5 separate regions of the Homo sapiens genome follow, and regions 2, 3, 4 and 5 are each linked to region 1. The links are contacts of gene promoters, found by promoter capture Hi-C in human tissues and cell types (Jung and others, 2019). All regions are on one chromosome and are shown on one strand. Each heading gives the region's core, a stretch centred on a gene start or on the middle of the fragment in contact. The rest is flanking DNA. Distances are from core to core; before and after follow the strand shown.

Region 1 (4,668 bases), core at 549-3,048:
AAGCTTTCAGTTTACCACAGGGAATATAATAAACAAACAAACAAACAAACAAAATTGTGGTTCAATGGAGTGGTTGAATAAGTGTGAGTGAAAGTATTAAATATTGTCGAGCAGAGGAAGTGAAAAGCATAATTACTTCGAAAGAACTAATAAAGAGATTTTTTCAATAGAAAATGAATATTAATGCAGTTGACTCTGTTAATCCCTCAAATTCTGAAAACCTTATACAAATTTAATAAAAGAAATAAATGTTGTAAACAGATTAAATGTAATTCTCTTCATTAAATACGAAGAACTTATCCTACTTTTATGAATTTTCATATTAGAAGGTCAGCATTTTTCCTGCCATAAAACATCTTTAAAATGGTAACTCCTAGACAGCCACTAATTTGCATTTCAATAAACAGGCTAAAAATGTCTACAGAAGTTATGGTGACTCTTTTCTAGCAAGGTTGAATGAGAAATTCAATTCTTTTAATACTCAGGTGCAACACTGAAGAACATCATTTCAGTTGCAATATCTTTTTGAGTATCAAAGGTAAATTTCAGTGCTATATATACATTTCGTATTGGAGGCTCAGGGGTGAGCCTGCGATTTTTGTCATAGGACGTTAGAGACACAAAAACATTTTACAAAGAACTTTGCTTTTAGCTTGCATTGTTTTGTGAATATGAACTGATGCAAAGACCACGTGTGTAAGACACTTTATACCTGAATAACCAATGAAAGGCCATTTGGGGCTCCATATTAATCACAAACAAGAAAACCCACTTTGCTTCGTTAATTATTAGCAGTTCTTACTACGAATAATTAGAAGGGAAACCAGATGCCCTTCTCTTATAAACAAGTGTCTATCTAAATCAACGAACCTGTACAGATTAGACCCTGGGTGAATTCATGCTTCTCAAAAACCTTGTGTTTGACTTCAGTCCAATAGCTCAGTCTACCACACTTGTGAATCTCCCAAAGAACGAAAACAAAGCTCTAAGTTTTTTTTATTCACAAGAGGGAAAACCAGGACTATTTAGAAAGCAGAAGATGGAGAGGCCACTGCCTAGCCTATCCAGATAAGTTTATTTGGATATAGTTTACTCTATCCAGAGAGTCAAATCCCCTAAACACGAGACTGCTATTTCCAAGGTGGAAAGGGAAAGAAAAGAAATGCAAAAGGTAAAAGTTAAAGGAAAAGGAACAAAACAAAACCGCGTGCGGCTGGAAGTGCGCGGGTTTCTGCCGTCGCCTCGCGGAAAAGGCAGAAGCGTCTGCAAAGGTCCTTCTGCAAAGGTCCCGGTCCGTCCAGCTCAACCCACGTTAGCCCGGACCGTGACCCAAGGGCAGCCCCGAGCCTCTGACCCTCTCCGCCGCCCTCCGTCACTGACCTGCGTAGACAAAGAGCAGGACCAACTTCGGAAGCAAGACCCCTGGACGCACGGGTAGCCTCGGAGCGTCCATCCAAGCCGGTGGCCTGAGGCTTGGAGCGAAGGGAGAGCCCGGAACCGGAGGGAATGGGGAGGATGGAGGGCGATCAGATGGAGAGAGCAGCGCTCCTGAGAGCCGGGTGGAGCAGAGACCCGGCCATTGCCTAGGGAGCCTTCCAAGGGAGCCCGGGCCGGGCGCGTCCCGGGCCAGCGACTGCGGGACTCCGCGGAGCTGGGGCGCCCGTGGCCCGAGACGGGCTGCGCTGGGGGCCCAGGTCTCTTTGTCTCGCCCCACTGCGCTCAGGCGCGGGGAAGGCGGCCACTCCGGCGTCCTTGGCCACCCAGGCTCACATTTCATCTCCGCGGGTGGCAACGACTGCGGGCAGGGGGCGGGGGTGGCCCCGACTCCTCCCCAAGCCCGGGTTCTTCCTTCTAAAGAGTGACTAGGGGACCAAGAAACTTTTCCTAACCCCTTGCTTTGGCGATTGCTATGGAGTTCAGCCTGCTCCTTTTTAACCTTGCCTCCACTACAATTTTTCCTTTCTAAGCAATGGATGAACAACTTTGCTTTTTATCTTTAAACAAAGGGAAGGAATTTTCAGGGTTGAAGGTATTCGACAAAGAGTGACAGTGAAGAAAACTCAGGATTGGGAAGTACAGAAAGTGTATGGCATCTCTGCTGAAAGCTGATAAAATGTTTATTATTTTTTCCTGTAAATTCAGAAAAAAAAAACACAACAGTGCACACTGTCGTTATGATTTTGACGTTTTGGAGTTACTGGCCTATGCAATTAAACAAGAGAAAGAAAAAGATTTATGAAAAATGAAAGCTAAATTGTCATTAGCAAATGAAATACGTGTATACATGGAAAATCAAAGTTAATCAACTATAAAGCTCTTGTTTAGCAAACCAATAGTTTTCTTTCCTGCAAACAAAAATCAGAAAGTTCTCAATGTTATGCATGAAGGAAAAAAAATGATACGAATAAGTAAAGAGATACTTTTTTCACTAAGAAAATTTAGTAGGATAAAGACAACAAGATTCCCCAAATTATTATATACATTTGGAAATAAAATTGATCCCAATTTTTAAAATAACATGATTTTTTTCAAACCAATCTGATTCTAAAGTTTATATGGAAAATAAATATGTAAGAATATCTATTTAAAACAAGAGTAATGAATGGGAATAATGAATGGGATATTACATATAATATCACAATAATTAAAACAGTTTAGATTAACATTGGAATAGATAGGCTTAGTGAAAGAGAAAAGGTAACCCAAAAGTAGACATGAGTATGTACAGCAATTTAATTTATGGTTTAAAGAAATATCAATGTAAAGTAGTAGGGGAAATGATGAGTTACTCAGTGAAAAGTGTTGAGGCCGTAAATAGCCATCTGTGGAGCCTTATCTTTTTACATCAAAATCAGTTCTATATGAATTACATATTTAAGATACAACTATGAAAATATTAGATTAAAAAATAAGAGGATAACATTCAAATAATTGTGGAATAGGGAAGCCTTTTCTAAGCATTATAAAAAACTCAGAAACCATAAAACAAAATATTGACCAACTTGACTAAATAAGAATTAATACTTCCAGTTGGCAGACATTTAACTGGCAAAAATATTTGCAATGCAAAGTCCTAATCTCATTATTATACTGAGCTTAAAAAAATCAATAGGAAAAACAACCAAGAGATAACTGAGGAAGGATATTAATAGACACTTCATACAAAACAAATAAATATAAATATAGAAATAAAATTGACAGTGAGACATCACTTTTCATGTATCAAACCAACCAAATACAAAACCAAATGAACTCTTAAGGGAAACGGTGTGGTTATATGTACGAAAATTCAAATACACATGTACTTAATTTAGTCAGTTCTCTTCCAGGAATTTTTTCCTGTAAATGCAGTGCTGCAAGGGAATACGAGAGTGGGAGGAAACATCACCCCCAAAATAAACATAAGCTAAGCTCTTTACTGTGTTTTACACGTTGGTGAAGGCCCAACCATCCACCATGTTCTAAAGAAGGCTGATCAGTTCCACCTTTTTTCTCATCCTCGCTGGCCAATCTATCACCAAGTTCACCTAATCTGTCCACCTGAACACCACCCAAACGCATTTTAAATTATCATCTATTTCTGTCCTAATCTAGACTTTTATAGTCTTGATTATATTCAGCCTCCCTGCCTTCAGAGATGTTTGCCAGACTGAAGCTGGAATATTTCTTCTTAAACTACAGATTTCATCATGTTCACTCACTCAGTAGCATCCTGTTGCCCTTAGGTTAAAATTCAAACATTTAATCCAGGGTGTTCAAGAACTTGTTCACTAGGTCCTGTCATTCTTGTAGCCTGATCAAAACATTCCACTGGGAAGCACAATTTCTAAATAACTGGGACAATGGTTGGAACCTAGAGAAAATCCCAGGCATACAAGCCCTTTGAGTCTTGAAGGAAGAAGATACAGATGGAAGTCAGTGTTTGCAGAGCTGAAGAATGGTATCCAGCCTGCTTGGAATAGAAAAATGATTGTCTTTGCAGATGAGACTGAATACAGATCCTTGATGGGCTGGTAGCTGTGATAGAAGAAGGGGCTTCTCCCGCCCACTTTTTGACACAGATCAGGAAGAGGCTGGCTGTTGCCACTGAGGCCCATAGGAAGTTGCAGTGTTGGTCAGGATAGTCTCTTTCAGCTTACTTTTGAGAACAGAAAGACTTCTCATACAGTTCAACAGATTGGTCGAGCAAGCTTGCCTGCAAGTGTACCTTCCAGAGCTGCTACCTTGAAGTATGCTGATGCTCAGGAAACCAAACTCAATTGACATGGAAAGGCAAAGAAAGATGGCAAGCCATTTAAGAAATTGTGGTAGTTAAAAGAAAGGATTTGAAGGAAAAAAAGATGTATATACAAATATGTATGGAATGAGAAACCTTAAGAATACAACATCAGAGGAACTAAAAGAGTTCCTGGAAATTAAAATAAATGTGGTTTGAGGTTTTAAAATTTACAGAAAAAAATTATAAAATAGTCACATTAAAAAAAAAAAACTTAGATTGTTAGATCAGGCCAGGCGCGGTGGATCACGCCTGTAATCCCAGCACTTTGGGAGGCCGAGGTGGGTATCACTTGAGGCTAAGAGTTCAAGAGCAGCCTAGCCAACATGGTGAAACTTCATCTGTACTAAAAATACAAAAAATTAACTGGGCGTGGTGGTGTGCACCAGTAG
Region 2 (4,668 bases), core at 1,249-3,748, 420 kb before region 1:
CTTTCTTACATGCGGTTCACAATAGGGTTTGCGCTCCTATGAGCATCTAATGCCCTGCTGATGTGACAAGAGGCAGGGCTCAGGCAGCAACACTCACTCACCCATTGCTCACCTACTGCTGTGCAGCAAAGCTCCTAACACGCCACAGACCGGTACCAGTCCATGGCCCAGGGGTTAGGGACTCCTGATTCACAGCATTACAATAAATAATAAATAATTAAAATATTACCTGATATTTGGCAAACAATCCCTCTCTAAGTCACTACTTCCAGCCTATGTTCAGGCTAGAAATGCCAAATAAAAAAGCACATGTCTGTCTGGGCACGGTGGCTCACGCCTGTAATCCCAGCACTTTGGGAGGCCGAGGCGGGGGGATCACGAGGTCAGGAGATCAAGACCATCCTGGCCAACATGGTGAAACCCTATCTCTACTAAAAATACAAAACAAAAACAAAATTAGCCGGGCGTGGTGGCGGGCGCCCGTAGTCCCAGCTACTCGGGAGGCTGAGGCGGGAGAATGGCGTGAACCCGGGAGGCGGAGCTTGCAGTGAGCCGAGATCGCGCCACTGCACTCCAGTCTGGGCGACAGAGCAAGACTCCATCTCAAAAAAAAAAAAAAAAAAAAAAATGGGCCAAGGATCTGAATAGACATTTCTAAAAAGCAAATGTACAAACAAACAAAACAAAACAAAACAAAAGCACAAGTCCACAACTACATAGCTCCAGTTTCCCTAAACAGATTTACCCATTCAGTAAACATTACATGTACAAAGAACTTAAAATAGTATGAGATTTAATGTTAAGAAATAAAATGTAGGATCTAAAACGTAATCTATAGCATAATCTCAAAAATGGTTTAGAAATGACATAATAATACAGACATTTGTGGGTGGTAGGATTATGCATATTTTTATATATTTTTAAATATATTTTTCAAAAGCTTCCTATAAAGAATGTAATTCTTTCCCAATTCCAAATCTAGCTTAAACATAATTTTACAAAAATTATTCTCTCAGAATGTAAACTAGTACCACCTCTATGGAAAACATTATGGAGATTTCCTAAAGAGTTAAAAGTAGATCTACCATTTGATCCAGCAATCTTAATACTGGGTATCTACCCGGAGGAAAAGAAGTCATTGTATGAAAAAGACACTTGTACACATATGTTTACAGGACCACAATTCACAAATGCAAAGATGCAGAACCAACCTAAGTGGCCACTGACTAATGAGAGGATAAAGAAGATGTGGCATATATATATCAGGGACTACTACTCAGCCATTACAAGGAACAAAATAATGTCTTTTGCAACAACTTGGATAGAGCTGGAGGCCATTATTCTAAGTAAAGTAATTCAGGAATTGGAAAACCAAAAACCGTATGTTCTCTCTTATAAGTGGGAACTAAGTTAGGAATAAGCAAAGGCACACAGAGGGACATATTGGACTTTAGAGACTCACGAGGAGGAGGGTAATAGGGGACTAGGGATTAAAAGAAAAACTAGACATTAGGTACAAGGTACCCTACTTAAGTGCACTAAAATCTCAGAATTCACCACTACGTAATTCAACTAAGTAACAAGAAACCACTTGTACCCCAAAAGCTACTGAAATAAAAATTATTCTCTCAAAAATTTTAAGCCCTAAACTTCAGTTCCTATTGTTTATATTTACTAAGAAAAACAACAGAAAACACTGTTTTAAAAATGGTGGATTTTTTTAAGGTTAAAGGTATATAAGACAGCTGCCTAAGGAAACGCAGATACCCCTGTACCTTGTTGTTGTTGTTGTTTTTCACTTTTTTAAAAAACATAGAGATGGGATCTCCTTATGCTGCCCAGGCTTGTCTCAAACTCCTGAGCTCAAGCAATCCTCTGACCTCAGACTCTCAAAGTTTTGGGACTACAGGCGACAGTCACCATGCCAGCCAATATCCTTGTACTTTTAACTCATTCCTACAAGCCATGAATCCTCTAAGCATTGTCCCAGACACAGCACTGGCAAACTTCAATCGTTTTCATCAGAATATAAAGAAACACAGGGCATGCTTAACTTCAAGGTTGATATTTCCTTTGTGAGTAAAGCCTTGCCACAGATGAGAAGTCCTGAGGATCAAACAGGAAAACTTTAAGTTTAATTAAATCTAAAATCATAAAACCTAAGTTATATGACTAAGCAAACTCTTCAAAGCACTCAGTCAACATCCATGCTGGTAAATATTTCAGGAATGAAATGAAAAATAACTTTCAATTCTAAAAGTTCATCCATCATGCATGCTTCACGTTGTAAAGCAAATATTTCACAAAAATGAGTTTACAACAAAAGAACACCAATCCCACTTCTCCAACCCTCCATGTCAGGCAGTAAGCTTTCCACATTTGCTTACATTCTGAAAATAACTATTTTACATGCCAGGAATGCAATAGGCTTAAGCTGTCAAAAAGTATCATACTTTAAGTGTAACTGGGTAAGAACTATGGGCACACACACAATAAGCCTTCCAAAACAAGGGGAGGTAAATGAAATCTTAATACCTGTGTTTCCAGAAGCCCAGAAATGAAGTGCAATTCCTTATAATCTGTACATGTTTACATACCCATACAGACAATAAAATGTGTAAGGTAATGACAGGTCCATCTCTCCCCTTCCTTTTAGTGGGCATCTGACATTTCAGGGTTCAGAATCACATATCCTGGGTCCCAAAAGGTCCCCCCATTCCTATTCCAACAGTGCTCACAATAGAAAAAGATGAACTGATCACTGGACCCTACATCATCTCATATATGTATAATACTAGTCCACAGAGAGGTTGAAGATATGCCTGGTAACTCTATTCATCCTACCCCACAAGTTTTGTCCAAATCAGGCCATGCCTTCAAGTGGGCCAGATTGTCTTAAAGCTCCTGGCTTAATATTTAACTGATAGCAACAACCTAACGTTAGTACCTTAGTAACTAAAGGGGATGCAGCAACATGAAGCAGAAAAAGTGATGAAGAAAGAGATTAGAAGTTAGAGAACAGGGACTGGGCTCTTGATCCTTAAAATGTGGGTGATTTTGAACAACTCAACATCTCCAGATATTACTTTCTTCATCTGTAAAGTGGAGAAGCTTAAAAAGGAGGTCTTATAGATTCTACCTGTTCCAGAAACTATGATTCTCTTCCTAGACAGCTGCAGGTTGAAGAGACTCTCCTAGAGCTGCACTGTCCAATACAGTAACCACTAGCCATCTGTGGCTACTAAGTACTTGACATGCAGCTGGTCTGAATTAAAATATGTGAAATATGTAATCAGGTGCGGTGGCTCACAACTGTAATCCCGGCACTTTGGGAGGCCAAAGCGGCAAGTCACTTGAGGTCAGGAGTTCAAGACCAGCCTGGCCAACATGGTGAAATCTCATCCCTACCAAAAATAAAAAAATTAGCTGGGTGTGATGGCACACGCCTGTAATCCCAGCTACTCAGGAGGCTGAGGCAGGAAAACTGCTTGAACCCAGGAGGTGGAGGTTGCAATGAGCCAAGATTGCAATGAGCAAGCTAGATTGCACTCTAGCCTGGGCAACCGACTGAGTGAGACTCCGTCTCAAAAAAATAGTAATAATAAAATAAAAAATAAATATGTGAAATGTGAACATTTTGAAGACATAATATGAAAAAATAATGTATTTCATAAATAGCTTTTATATTGACCCCCTGTTGAAATAACATTTTGAATTTAGTGACAGACTAAAATTAATTTCGCCTGCTTATTTTTTTATGTGGCTACTTGAAAACTTTAAATTAGATCTAACGGTCCTATTATACCTCTACTGGATAATTCTGCTTTAAAGTCAGTCCTGGGCATGCATGACGCCCAGAGGAATTCACAGATAAAATGAGCCCAGGAATCTGTATGGAATACAGACCTGTAGGTTACCATTTCCATATTAAATGTGTAAAGGGCTGTTTTAAAACCATGCTTTTGTTTTCTTATTTTGTGCACCAACAATAAATCAACAGCAAATATCATTGGGTCTAAAAATAATTGATATCTGGCTGGGCGCGGTGGCTCATGCCTGTAATCCCAGCACTTTGGGAGGCCGAGACGGGTGGATCATGAGGTCAGGAGATCAAGACCATCCTGGCTAACATGGTGAAACCCTGTCTCTACCAAAAATACAAAAAAACGTAGCTGGGAGTGGTGGCGGAAGCCTGTAGTCCCAGCTACTCGGGAGGCTGAGGGAGGAGAATGGCGTGAACCCAGGAGGGAGGCAGAGCTTGCAGTGAGCCGAGACCGTGCCACTGCACTCCAGCCTGGACAACAGAGCGAGACTTCGTCTCAAAAAAAAAAAAAAAAAAAAAGATACCACTTCATTTATGCTATGCCTGAATCCTAATTATCAACTGTAGGCCTTAACAATAATCCTAAGTGGATGTGCCTTTATGCAGGCACTTGTGGCCTTTTTGTTTTCTTTGAATTAAATATACAAAGTAATAATTTATCTTACTTCATAAAAAGATTATAATCTCCCATTTTTTAAAACACATTTGATATTAGTAGGAATAACTAAAATGAACTCGTATGAATAGACCATTTTTATTTCATTGATATCTAACTAGGAACGTTGCAACTAATTTTTGCAATCTGTATCAATTTGTTTAATATATTTTAAATGAACAAAGAAGCA
Region 3 (4,668 bases), core at 1,047-3,546, 370 kb before region 1:
CTGTCTCTACTAAAAATACAAAAATTAGCCAGGTGTGGTGGCGCATGCCTGTAATCCCAGCTACTTGGGCGGCTAAGACAGGAGAATTGCTTGAACCTGGGAGGCGGAGGTTGTAATGAGCCGAGATTGCACCACTGAACTCCAGCCTGGGCGACAGAGCAAGACTCTGTCTCAAAATAAATAAATACATACATACATACATACATACATACATACATACATACATGCATACATATATGCATAATAAAGATGTATGACTTTCTTTATTGTTGTTGTTTTGAGACAGGATTTCACTCTCTAGTCCAGGCTGGAGTGCTGTGGTGTGATCCTAGCTCACTGCAGCCTTGAACTCCTGGGCTGAAGTGATCATCTTGCCTCAGCCTCCCAGACACCTGGGACTACAGGTGCACACCATCACGGCTGGCGAATTTATTTATTTATTTATTTTTTAGAGATAGGGCCTTGCTGTGTTGCTCAGGCTGGTCATAAACTCCTGGCCTCAAGCGATCTTCCACTTTGACCTCCCAAAGTGCTGGGATTGCAGGCATGAGCCTCCACACCTGGTGCAGCCGTACAGCTTTCAAAAATGAAGAGAGGAACTCGTGGGCACTACTGGCATACATCTAAGAATAAAATGTGAACAATCTGGTTGTTGTGTTATAACAACTTGGTTAATACAATATGATATTGATGAGATGCTCCCAACTCATCTTGGAGTAACTGAATGATGCTACCTGAAAGGTAGATATGAGTAGGAAGTGGAGGTATACAGGGGCTGGAGTGGGGCAAGGAGGCTTTCCAGGCATGGAGAAAAGTGTAAACTAAGACACAGCTTATGTGAGAAACAAGCATAGTACAAGTAATCTAGTGTTGCTGGATCATAAGGGCTTCTGGGATAAAGAATCTTCAAAGAAGGAGAGATATAATTGCTTAACATACAGCTCACCAATGGGATTATGCAATGATTTATAACTGTCCCCTAGATAGCTGTGTGGCATCAGACAAGCCATTAACATCTCTGTGCCTCATTTGTCATCAAATGCTGCATGGGAATAAAACGTCATGAATTATCTCCTTTCTAAAGTGACACATGAATTGCTAAAAAAAAAAAAAAAAGAAAAATTAAGTTCTAAAGAACTTTCTTTTTTTTTCTTTTTTTGAGATGGAGTCTCACTCTGTTGCCCAAGCTAGAGTGCAGTGGTGCGATCTCGGCTCACTGCAAGCTCCTCCTCCAGGGTTCAAGTGATTCTCCTGCCTCGGCCTCCTGAGTAGCTATGACTATAGGCGCCCGCCATCACGCCTGGCTAATTTTTTGTATTTTTAGTGGAGATGGGGTTTCACCGTGTTAGCCAGGATGGTCTTGATCTCCTGACCTCGTGATCCGTCTGCCTCGGTCTCCCAAAGTGCTGGGATTACAGGCGTGAGCCACTGCGCCCAGGCTAAGAACTTTCTAATATTGTCCTATATGTAGCCAAGCCTTGTGCAGATAAAGATTATTATTGCCGTTTGGGACAAGTGGATGCTTTCAGAGAGTCTTAGTTGAGGTTTCCTAGAGGCTGAACCTGAGATAGAGATCCTTATGCAAGTGGTTTATTGAACTTACTAGTTTTGGAAGAAACTAGTAAGAAGGTGAGGGAAGCAGAAAAGGGCAGGAGGAGAAGCAAATGCAAATGTTAAAATAGAAGGATTTAACCACTTTCAAAAAGAGGGCACTCATTTACAAAGTAGTAAAGGACACACATTTAATTATATAAAAATGTGCATAGATGTTTGGAAATTTTGACATGTAGTCACAGAATAATGTGAAAATTATATACAATTATTGACATTCAAATAGCAGAAACATAGAAAGTCAAAGGTTGGCCATGGATGACCCTCATCAAGGGCAAATGTGTACACATCTATGCACTTATATTTAATGGCAATGAACTTGTCAGCTACAGCCTGTTTGACATTTACAGAATGATGTGTGATAATGGGATTGATGAATTCATTAGCATTATGAATCATACATAAATAGAATCTTTAGCACATTTTATTAAGTGTGAACTAAAATATGTTGTTTGGAGAGGACAAAGATTACAAATGTTTTAAACTGGGTTCCCAAAGGGCAAGGAAAATTAAACAGTCAGATTCCACCCTAAATGATCAAAAGGTGGAATGTACATCTCAGTCACGTTGTGCTGATGTGGCAGTAGGGCCAGAGGAGTTTTGGAAAATCCAAAGAAGCACAAAGCTTGAGTATGAGCATAAAGGAAAACACCAAGCGCTGAGTCAGACACTGGACAAGAAGTTCTTTTCTGATTTTTCAAATGAAAAGACTGTACAGTTGAGATTAAGGTTCATTAATTTATTGATTCAACCAATATTTAGAGAGCACCTCTTACGTGCTGGGTCCTGTGGTTGTTGCTGCAGTTACAGACATGAAGAGGCAGGAATGAGCTCCCAAGCCAAGTATGCAGGATTGTGTCATTTCTCGTTCCATGCTTTTTGCTAATCATGTCTGGGGGTTTATAGGCTGTGTCTACATTTGTGTGGTTTCCTAGAGATTTCAAATATTAAAAAATATCCAAACCCCTTCCCATTGCCTTAAACTCTTCCCTTAATTCATATTCCAGAATTGGCACAGGGAAAAATGGATCTCTTCTTTCCCCCAGGAAAAAAACCCCACAAGCTTATAGTTATGGTAAATTAATTGGTGAATATTCTTCATTAACTATTCTGTATCTTAATTTTTTTCCCTGAAAAATGAAAATGTTACTTATACCACTGGGAGCATTTTGCTGATTATTAGTATCCAAGGTATAAAATTTTTTGAGATTCTGGGAACAAGAACTCCCCCATGGAGAGATTAAACTACCTTCTCTTATACATTATAGAGTTTACTATCTTGATTTATTTCTTCTTGTTGATCTCTAATCCATCCAATAACCATAGCCACTAGTAATTGTGAATATCTTTTTATTATATCGGGTTTCTTGTAACTTTGAGGATTTTGTTTTAGTAAATTAAATATATTATTTGTACATGTAATTTTGCTGCATAGAACAACTGGATTTCTGGATAAGTAGCTTGAATGTTATGTCCTAGAGAATAGGAGTTTATTACTTGCTAATATGGCTTATTACATTCTGATGAATATTTTGACTATGATCTGAGTTGAATTGATAGGAATACATTTTCGAAGTACTTAAAAATTATTTATGGTGGTTCTTTTGTAGTGTTTTCCTTTTTATAAAACCACACTGTCTGAGAAGAACTCTCTTACTTCTGTGTCTTAACTTGTGGGAACAATTTATTTATTTATTTATTCATATTAGAGATGGGGCCTCATAATGTTTCCCAGGATGGCCTCAAACTTCTAGGCTCATGGGACCCTCCCGCCTCAGCCTCCCAAGTAGCTGGGCCTACAGATGCCCACTGCTGTCCCCGACTATCTATATGAATTATCTTTATCATTGAAAATTTAGGCCAGGCGAGGTGGCACATGCTTGTAATCCTAGCACTTTGGGAAGCTGAGGCAGGTGGACTACTTGAGCCCAGGTGTTCAAGACCAGCCTGGGCAACATGGTGAAATCCTGTCTCTGTGAAAAATAAAAAAATTAGTCAGGGGTAGTGGTGCACACCTGTGGTCCCAGCTACTCAGGAGGCTGAGATAGGATTGCTTGAGCCTGGGAGGTTGAGGCTGCAGTGAGCTGAGATGGCACCACTGCCTTCCAGCCTGGGTGACAGAGTGAGACCCTGCCTCAGGAAAAAAAAAAAAGAAAAAAAGAAAAAGAAATTTTATCAATGTGTTTGTGCTGGTGTCAGTTTAAAGCCTATAGAGAGTCTTGGAATTTATGGGATGTTGAATTTTTAAAAATTCATTTGTATTAAGTGGACTTTTTATAAAAGAGTAAATACCTAATTAAAATAATATTTTATCTGATGTTACCAAAGAGTTCTTCATTTCAACGTTCCATCCCTGAGTAAGTTAACTTATGAGGAATGAATTATATTACCTAGCAACCTCCATCCATCTTACCACATTGTTAAAAGCCTATATTCTGCAAATAATTCACGTAATGAAACAATAGGCATAAATTAAGTTATACATTTAATTAACATATACATAATTAAATTATATATACCAAGAAACATTAAACTTTTAAACAATTATAACCAAATTCATTGCTCATTTCTTCTAAATCGATATTTACATCTTTATTGTTAATTTCTAAGAAAAGCCTTAATAAGAAAAATAACCTAGGAGTATCTTGAATTAGCAAATGTATGTTTTATAGAAATTCTACATTTTATAGATTCTATCACTGCTTCTACAGTACATACATTTTTATATTTATGGATTCATTGGTATCCTATAAATAGCCTGGATTTTTAATATAATTTATACTACTAGAGTATAAATTATACTCTAGTATAATGGTTCTCAGGTGCGCATATCAGAAGACAAACACAGAGATGGTTGACATTGACATATAGCAGACTTTTATCCCCCTAAAAATGCATTTTTTTTAGCAGGTTCAAAATTGGAAGCATGAATTGAAACAACACAGAAATAACATGTTTGCTTACAGTGGATAAATTTTGTACTATTTTATAGAAAACCTCTACAAATTTAAGACAAGTTACCGAGCTTGTTGACAAGTTATGAGGCCATATGAAAAG
Region 4 (4,668 bases), core at 1,064-3,563, 320 kb before region 1:
AATGGCTACAAAGTATTGTCCTGAGAGATATCCTAATTTATTTTTTTAAATGATTCCCAATTGACTGGCCTTAAGTTGCTTCTATTTTCATAGAAGCAATAATTATCATAATGCTACAATAAACATTATTGTACATATAACATTTTTGCATTTGGGGAGAGTATGTATATTGCAGGAGAAATTCTTAGAAATGGAATTTCTGGGCATATGAATTTTCAAAAATATTGCCAAATTAAAAAGGACTGCATATATTTACTCTCCCACTAGCACTGTGGGAAAGCCTTTTTTTTTTTTTTTTTTTTTTTTTTTTGAGACAGAGTTTCACTCTGTCACCCAGACTGGAGTGCAGTAGTGCCATGTCGGCTTACTGCAACCTCCGCCTCCTAGGCTCAAGCGATTCTTCTGCCTCAGCCTCCGGAGTAGCTGGGATTACAGGTGCACCACTACTACCCAGCTAATTTTTGTATTTTTAGTAGAGATGGGGTTTCACCATGTTGGCGAGGCTGGTCTTGAACTCCTGACCTCAAGTGATCCACCTGCCTCGGCCTTCCAAAGTGCTGGGATTATAGGCGTGAGCCACTGCACTGTGCCCGGAAAATCTTTTTTATTCATGTCTTTACTACCATTGGTCAGCTAAGCCAGAAGACAGATGACAGAGGGCTGGTCTATTTTTGAATATTGACAGAGAAGAATGAGACTCTGGGCTGGGCGCGGTGGCCCATGCTTGTAATCCCAGCACTTTGGGAGCCCAAGGTGGGCAGATCACCTGAGGCCAGGAGTTCGAGAGCAGCCTGGCCAACATGGTGAAATCCCATCTCTACTAAAAATACAAAAATTAGCTGGGTGTGGTGATGTGCACCTGTAGTCCCAGCTACTCAGGAGGCTGAGGCAGGAAAATCGCTTGAACCCTGGAGGCAGAGGTTGTAGTGAGCTGAGATCATGCCGCTGCACTCCAGCCTGGGCAACAGAGTGAGACTCGGTCTCAAAAAAAAAAAAAAAAAATGAGACTGATCAATGTTGCTTTGACTTCAATTTACTACTAAAACAGCTAGCAAGAAAGGGAAAGGGTACTCGCTAGACCAGTGGGTCTCAACACCTGGAGCAGCAGCAGTAGCACCACCTGAAACTTACTAGAAATGCAAGTTCTCAAGTCCCATCTTAAATCTGAATCAGAAACTCTGGTGGCAGGGCCCAGGAATCTGGGTTTAACAAGATCTTGAGCTGATTTTGATGGTGGCCCAAGTTGGAGAATTACTGCAGTACAGCTTGATGAAAGTGAGAATGCAGTTTCCCAGTGCTTTCCTTATGCCTCTTGGAGGTGAACCTGGAGTCCTCTGCTTTAGGTTGAAGGTACCCAGGGCTTTGTACTCCCTGCATCTCACCCCACTGGGGTGGAGCAGGGGACCCACTGGGATTCAGTGTATTACTTACTTTCATATAAGGCAACTCTTGTTGTCCCATAGTTATAAAGCTCTGTGTTCTGTTTCTTATTGTATTACGTGTACGTGGACATGCCAAACATTAACAAATATTTGGCTTCTTGTCTATCTGAAAAATGGCCCCTCATTTCTATTTAACATGAATTTCTTTAATTATAAGTGAAGTTGAGCATCTTCTTATTTTTATGGGCCACTTTGCACGTTTTCCTCTTATTTATTACTTTCTATATTTGTCATATTTTCTATTGGTTGGTTGTCTTTTTAAAAAAGAATTAAATTGTAACAGCTGTTTTAATTCTAAGGAAATTAGCCTTTCATCATTTGTGTTGCAAATTCGTTTTTACCTACTTTGTCATCTATCATTTAAATTTAGTTACAATACATTTTTGCATCACAGAGAGTTAAGATTTTTATGTAGTCAAATTGATAAGTTTTTATGTGTCTGAATTTTGAATTTTATGTATGCTTAGATAGATCTTCCCAACCCTAGGATAATTAAAAAAACATATTTTTTCCTAAACTTTATGGCTTTATTTTTAGCATATACATCTTTGATGTGAATGGAATTTATTGTGACTTAACAACTGAAGTATACATATTAACTTCCATTTCCAATGGAATATCATTGATTGAGATTATAATTAACTTATAGCTCAATAAAAAAAGAGTTTTAACCCAGAGTTTTCCTAACCAAGAACAGAGTATACCTTTACAGTTACTTATTTTTTCATTTTTTTTTCCTTCGGGAGTGATTTAAAGGTTCTTTATATAGTTATTACATATGTATTTTATAAACTTTTGGAATGTGATGTTTCTTATTATAAGTAACCTTTCTACTAATTATTTGCATATAATAAAGCTCAATTTTTTTTGTGTATTGATTTCATAATCACCTTACTGAATTCTCATATTATTTTTATTAGTATAGTTTTTAGAGGATTCTTAGGAGTTTTCCAAGGCGATGTGGTTTGGATCTCTGTCCCCACCCAAATCTCATGTTTAATTGTAATTTCCAACTGTTCATTGCTTGTAATCCCCAGTGCTGGAGGTGGGCCTGGTGGGAGGTGATATTGGATCATGGGGGCTGATTTCCTCCTTGATGCTGCTTGATCATGAGTGAGTGCTCATGAGATCTGGTTGTTTAAAAGTGTATAATGCCTCCCCTCTCTCTCTCTTCCTCCTGCTTCAGCCGTATGAGCATAACTGCTTCAGCTTTGCCTTTTGCCATGAGTAAAAGCTCTCTGAGGTCTCTCCAGCTATGCTTCCTTTAAAACCTGCAGAACTGTAAGCTAATTCAACCTCTTTTCTTCATAAATTACCCAGTCTCTGGCATTTCTTTATAGCAATGGGAGAAGAGACTAATACACAAGGTTGTAATAATTATCTATGAATAATATAAAGCAGCCTGTTTTTGAAATTAGACTTCTGTTATGGAGTGAATATTATGGTGGAATATGACCTTTCTAAAATTTTTCTGTTCTTAAAAACATCATCTTGGGCTGGGTGGTGGCTCATGCCTGTAATCCCGGCACTTTGGGAGGCCTAGGCGGGTGGATCACAAGGTCAAGAGACCGAGACCATCCTGGCTAACACGGTGAAACCCTGTCTCTATTAAAATACAAAAAAATTAGCTGGGCATGGTGGTGGGCACCTGTAGTCCCAGCTACTCTGGAGGCTGAGGCAGGAGAACGGCGTGAAGCTTGCAGTGAGCCGAGATTGCGCCACTGCACCCCAGCCTGGGTGACAGAGTGAGACTCCGTCTCAAAAAAAAAACAAAACCATATCATCTTTAATGAAGTAAATGTCATACAACAAAATTGACCAATTTTACATTTGTAATTCTGTTTTAATCATGTAGTACAGCTGTATAATTACCACAATCATCATATAAAACATATCAATCCTGCCAGAAAATTCTCTCCTACTCCTTTCCTGTCAATTGCTTCTCCCTATCTCTTGTTCCTGGTACCACTAAATAACTTTTGGTCATTGTAGTTTTACCCTATCTAGAATTTTATATAAATAGACTCATACGGTGTGCAGTCTTTTGTGTCTCACTTTTTTCACATAATATATCATGATATGGCTATACAATAATTTGTTTATATTCACTAGTTGATGAACATTTGGGTTGTTTACAACTTTTTGGCTATTAATGAATAAAGAGGCTATTCATGTACATTCAAGTACATGTCTTGTCTGGGTGTGTGTTATTATTTCTCTTGGGTAAATACTTAGGAGTGAGCCTGCTGAGTTGTATGGTAAGAGTATATTTAACTTGGGCCGGGTGTGGTGGCTCACGCCTGTAATTCCAGCACTTTGGGAGGCCGAGGCGGGTGGATCACGAGGTCAAGAGATCGATACCATCCTGGCCAACATGGTAAAACCCCATCTCTACTAAAAACACAAAAATTAGCTGGGCATGGTGGCGTGCGCCTGTAGTCCCAGCTACTCAGGAGGCTGAGGCAGGAGAATAGCTTGAACCTGGGAGGCGGAGGTTGCTGTGAGCTCCATTGTGCCACTGCACTCCAGCCTGGTGACAGAGCAAGACTCCATCTCAAAAAAAAAAAAAAAAAAAAGTATATTTAACTTAATAAGAAACTGACAAACACTTTGTATGACTCTACCATTTTGTATTGCCATCAGCATTATATGAGTATTCCAGTTGCTTCACATTTTCACCAGCATTTTGTATTGCTATCTGCTGAATGTGTCCCCAAAAGTCACGTGTTGGAAACTGAATGCCCAGTGCAATAGTATTGGGAGGTATGGTCTTTGAGAGGTGACTGAGTCATGAGGACTCTTCTTTCAAGAATGGATTAGGTCTCTTATAAACAGGGCTTACAGAAGTGGGTTCATTCTCCTTCATTCTTCTACCATGTGAGGACACAGTGTTCCTTCTCTCTGGAGGATACAACATTCAAGGTACCACCTTGAAAGCAAAGACCAGACTCTTACTAGACAAGGAACCTGCCAGCACCTTAGTCTTGAACTTCCCAGTTCCCAGAACTGTGAGAAAATAAATTTCTGTTATTCATACATCACCGTTTCAGGTATTTTTATTATAGCAACACAAAACCAAGATGGGTATTGTCTTTTAAAAAAAATTCTAGTGAGTGTTTTGTAGTATCTCAGTGTGTTTTTAATTTTCATTACCTTAATGACCGATGTTGCTGAGCATCTTTGCATGTACTTACTTATCATTTATAGATATTATTTGATGAAGTGT
Region 5 (4,668 bases), core at 1,476-3,975, 300 kb before region 1:
CAGACATACAAGTAAACACCTACACATGAATTAGTTCTCTCCAAGAGGAAGCTAGAATCCAGTTGAAAGTCTCCCACACACTGGAAGACTGAGAAAATACCCACATCCAAACAGGTAGGAAAAGCAGAGACACACTTGCACTAATCCTACCATGAGCACAACGCCTTATAATTAGGAAGGAAACTCCAACTCCCAGCTTCTTCCAGAAGGTTGGGAGTCTTGTACCACATGTATAGTGCCCAACTTTTACAGTTCCTGTGGGAGGGCTTTGATCTTAAGTTACCATGCTTGAAGAACAGTAGGGACAGTGCATTGGAGGATTTCTCTCAAGCACAATGGACAAAGGGGCTTTTGAACCATGTGAGGACTCCCAGCTACTCTAGCCCCCAGGGATCAGCCCAACTTCTAACTTCCCCCTAAAGAGGGTTCAGCCTAAGACTTTTCAAGGAACTCCCTGTGGCTCTGGCTTCTAACAAGCTGGTATCTGGGAGTCTAATAAGGAGCCTATAAGGATTAAACTTCTTTGAGTCTAAATCAGAAAGAAGGCACTCCCTGTGCCTTCTCCCCTTGCTGTCTCCTGATATAAATTCCTGCAATCTCTCATTAGAAAGAGAAGGGTGTACCTCTCCATGTCTGAAAGGAAAAGGGGGCACTCTCTATTCCTCTACCCTGGCTTGCTTTCACGATAAGATCACACAAGGCTCCCCCTACAAGGAGGGTGTGAAACTTCTGCTTGCTTGAATAGGAGAGTGGGCATCACTTGCACTTTCTTCCTTGGCTTGTTCCAGTGACGATTTCAGCCCTACAATATCTCCATGGAAAGAAGTTTGATGCCTCCACCAGCAAGAATGAAAGGGATGGCACTCCTCATGCTCTTTTTCTCAGTTTGCTCAGGAGATAAACTCCTGAAATATCTCATTGGAAGGAGATAGAGGGACCTCTCCATGACTGAAAAGGAAAGTGAGAAGTCCCTGACCCTTCTGCTCTGGCTTGTTTCAGCAATAACTCCAGACCAGAAGCCTGTCCCTACTAGAAGAGTGAGAGACTTTTGCTTGCATGAACAGGAAAGTGGGCGTTCTCTGAAATATCTTCTCTGGCTTGCTCCATCAGTAAATACAGATCTGCAGGTCCTGGAAGTAGTTTCTGCAAGCACCAAGGACTCCATCTTTTACAGTTTCCAACAAGGTACTGGCTTCTAAATTACCTAGATCTTGGAGTTAATGGAGCTCTACATTCCTGAGTTTCCTAAGTTACAGAGAACATAAAGATGACTTTTAAACATGCAAATTTTCAGCAAATATTTCCACAGGTCCAAAGTGAGAAGTCTGATCAAGAATACAAGTATCTCTCTCAGTCACTCACCTTGTGTACAGCAGAACAAGTGTGAGATAAACTCTGGCTGTCAACTTCTCTGCAAAGAAAGAAGGAACTGGAACATATCTTACACCTCAACCTCTTCAGCTGCATTCTAAGGAACTGACTTCTATCCCACTTCTCTCAAGGCAATAGCATGACTTGACACTCTCTAATTTCTTTGGGGACACTAAGAACAAAGACATCAGGTTAGATGAGTACAAGGAGTTTGGAAGCACCAGGAATCTCTGGCTGGGCTGATGGGGGAGAAACATCTTTTACATGGGACCAGTCTAACAAAATTGAGAGAGATGGTTCTTTTATCTAATGCATGGAAACAAACATGAGAGCCAAGGAAAAATGAAGAAACGTGGAAATGTGTTCTAAATATAAGATACATCTCTGGAAGCCAACCCCAATGAAGTGGAGATATGTGATTTACATGACAGGGAATTCAAAAGGACAGTCATAAAGATACTTACTGAGACAAGGAGAGCAATGCAAGAACAAACTGAGAACTTTAAAAAAAGATAGAAAATATAAAAATAGCAGCAAACAAAAATAATTGAGCTGAAGAATACAATAATGGGGCTCAAAAATTTAATAGAGGGTTTCAATACCAATCTATATAAAGCAGAAGAAAGAATTAGCAAACTTGATGACAAGTCATTAGAAGTCATCCAATCTAAGAAGTCAAAAGAAAAAAGAATGAAAAAGGGTGAAGACAGTGTAGGGGATTTGTGGGACACCATTAAGTGGAATAATATATACATTATCAGTGTACCAGAAGGAGAAAAGAAACAGAAAGGGACAGAAAACATTCAAGGAAATAATGGCAGAAAATTTCCTAAGTCTGGAAAAGAAAATAGAAATCCATATCCATGAAGCTCAATGGTCTGTTATAGGATAAATTCAAAGGGACACACACCAAGACACATTACAATCAAATTGTCAAAAGTTAAAGACAAAGAGAATATTGAAAGCAGTAAGGGAGGAGTGACTTGTTACATACATGGGACCTCTAGAAGACTGTCAATGGATTTTCCACAGAAATCCTGAAGGGTAGAAGGGAAAGGGATGATATATTCAAAACTGAAATAAAAAAAAGAACCCTGCCAACCAAGAATACTATACCCAGCAATCCTGTCCCTTAAAGGTGAAGAAGAGATAAAAACTTTCTGAGACAAACAAAAGGTGAGGGAATTTATCACCATTAGACCTACCTTACAAGAATGCTAACAATAGTCCCTCAAGCTTAAGGAAAAATTGTTAAGTAGCAACATCAAAGTATATTAAAACATAAAACTTACTGGTAAAAGTAAGTATGTAGTTAAACTCAGAACACTCTTAGATTGGAACAGTGGTGTGAAAATAAATTTTGTTTCTAGCATGAAAATTAAAAGACAAAACTATAAAAACAACTGTAGTTACACTAACTTGTTAAGGGACACAAACTAAAAATTACAAAACATGTCAAAAAAACAAATGGAGAGGAATAAAAGTATAGAGTTTGTGCAAGTGATCAAAGTTAAATCATTATCAGCTTAACAAGGGATGTTCTTAGCATATGATGTTTTATATAATCCTCATAGTGGCCAAAAAAAAAAAAAAAACAACTCCTTAGTGGATACACCAAAGATAAAAAGAAAGGATTCAAAGCATACTGTGATAGGAAATCATCAAGCCACAAAAGACAACCATAAGAGAGGAAGAGAGGAACAAGTAATCTACAAATTAACCAGAAAACAATTAACAAAATGGCAATAGTAAGTCTTTATCTATCAATAATTACTTTAAATGTAAATGAACTAAGTTATTCAATCAAAATACATCAAGTGGCTAAATGGATTAACCAAAAAAAAGACTCAGTGATATGCTGCCAACAAGAGACTCATTTCATCTCTAAGAACATACATAGACCAAAAATGAAGGGATGGAAAAAGTTATTCCATGGAAATAGAAATCAAAATAGAGCAGGGATAGCTATACTTATATCACACAAAATAGACCTTAAGTCAAAAACTATAAAAAGAGGTGAAGAAGGTCATTATATGACGATAAAGTGGTCAATTCATCAAGAAGATATGACAGTTGTAGATATGCATCCATCCAAAGTTGGAACACCTAAATTGGTAAAGCAGATATTAATAGATCCAAGGAATGAGATAGACTGTAATATAATAATAGTAGGATAACTAAATACTACACTTTTAACATTGGACAGATCATCTAGACAGAAAATATTGGACTTGAAGTATGCTTTATTTATTTATTTATTTTGAGACAGGGTCTCACTCTTTTGCCCAAGCTGGAATGTAGTGGCAAGACCATGGCTTACTGCAACCTCTACCTCCCCTGGCTCAAGTGATACCCCCACCTCAGCTTCTTGAGTGGCTGGAACTACAGGCATGCACCACCATTCCCAGCTAATTTTTGTATTTTTTTGTGGAGACAGGGTTTTGCCATGTTTTCCAGTCTGGCCTCAAACTCTTGGGCTTCAGCAATTCACCTGGCTTGGCCTTCCAAAGTGCTGGGATTACAAATGTGAGGCACTGCACCTGCCCTGAACTACGCTTCAGATCAAATAAACCTAACAGACATTTATAGAACATTCCATTCAACAGCAAGAGAATATAAATTCTTCTCAAGTGCATCTGGAACATTCTCCAGGATATATCATATGATAGGCTGAAAACAAGTCTTAACACATTTAAAATGATTGAAATAATATTGAGTATTTTTTCTGACCACAATGGCATAAAACTAGAAATCCATAACAAGAGGAACCTTGAAAAATTCCCAAATATATGAGAATTAAACAGCCTGTTTCTGAATAACTGATGGGTCAAAGGGGAAATTAAAAGAGAAATTAAAAAATATCTTAAGACAAATGAAAATGGTAACACAACATATCAAAATTTATGGAATGCAGCAAAAGCAGTCCTGTGAGGGAATTTTATGACAATACATGCCTACATCAAAAAAGGAAAAAGATTTCAAATAAACATTGGTAGAAACGGGATATCCACATGCAGAAGAAGGAAATTGGATCATTTTCTTACACCATATACAAAATAAACTCAAAATGAGTAAAAGATTTAAATGTTAAGGCCTGAAACTGTGAAGTTGCTTGGAGAAAATGGGAAAAGCTCCATGTTGTTGATCTGGGCAATGATTTCTTGGACAGAACTCCAAAAACCACAGGCAACAAAAGCAAAAATAGACAATTGGGATTGCATTAAATTAAAAAGCACAGCAAAGGAAACAATTAACAGAGTAAAGACACACCCATGAATTGGCAGAAAATATTTGCAA

What was found. Contacts are between HindIII fragments. The study calls those that stand out against the background at their distance.
Region 2: a fragment that was not itself captured here is called in contact with the fragment with the promoter of CYYR1 in region 1 in 2 of the 25 tissues and cell types used here (heart left ventricle and stomach).
Region 3: a contact is called between a fragment that was not itself captured here and the fragment with the promoter of CYYR1 in region 1, in 1 of the 25 tissues and cell types used here (heart left ventricle).
Region 4: a fragment that was not itself captured here is called in contact with the fragment with the promoter of CYYR1 in region 1 in 2 of the 25 tissues and cell types used here (dorsolateral prefrontal cortex and lymphoblastoid cells).
Region 5: a contact is called between a fragment that was not itself captured here and the fragment with the promoter of CYYR1 in region 1, in 2 of the 25 tissues and cell types used here (dorsolateral prefrontal cortex and lymphoblastoid cells).

What each region holds. Positions count from the first base shown.
Region 1 is chr21:26,571,488-26,576,155 of GRCh38, forward strand. It overlaps CYYR1 (cysteine and tyrosine rich 1), which reads right to left and starts at 1,799. Exons shown (of 4, transcript NM_001320768.2): 1 at 1,381-1,799. The coding sequence starts at 1,453. The HindIII fragment of the contact is 7,865 bases long and covers 1-4,668 here.
Region 2 is chr21:26,151,680-26,156,347 of GRCh38, forward strand. All of the region lies in intron 1 of APP (amyloid beta precursor protein), which reads right to left. LOC124900466 (a long non-coding RNA gene) reads right to left here. Exons shown (of 2, transcript XR_007067829.1): 1 at 1-4,668. Among named protein-coding and RNA genes, the nearest start is that of APP, 17 kb to the right of the region's middle. The HindIII fragment of the contact is 4,365 bases long and covers 317-4,668 here.
Region 3 is chr21:26,197,324-26,201,991 of GRCh38, forward strand. All of the region lies in intron 2 of APP-DT (APP divergent transcript), which reads left to right. Among named protein-coding and RNA genes, the nearest start is that of APP-DT, 29 kb to the left of the region's middle. The HindIII fragment of the contact is 3,797 bases long and covers 399-4,195 here.
Region 4 is chr21:26,255,760-26,260,427 of GRCh38, forward strand. No RefSeq gene overlaps it. Among named protein-coding and RNA genes, the nearest start is that of APP-DT, 87 kb to the left of the region's middle. The HindIII fragment of the contact is 3,349 bases long and covers 640-3,988 here.
Region 5 is chr21:26,271,480-26,276,147 of GRCh38, forward strand. No RefSeq gene overlaps it. Among named protein-coding and RNA genes, the nearest start is that of APP-DT, 100 kb to the left of the region's middle. The HindIII fragment of the contact is 9,017 bases long and covers 1-4,668 here.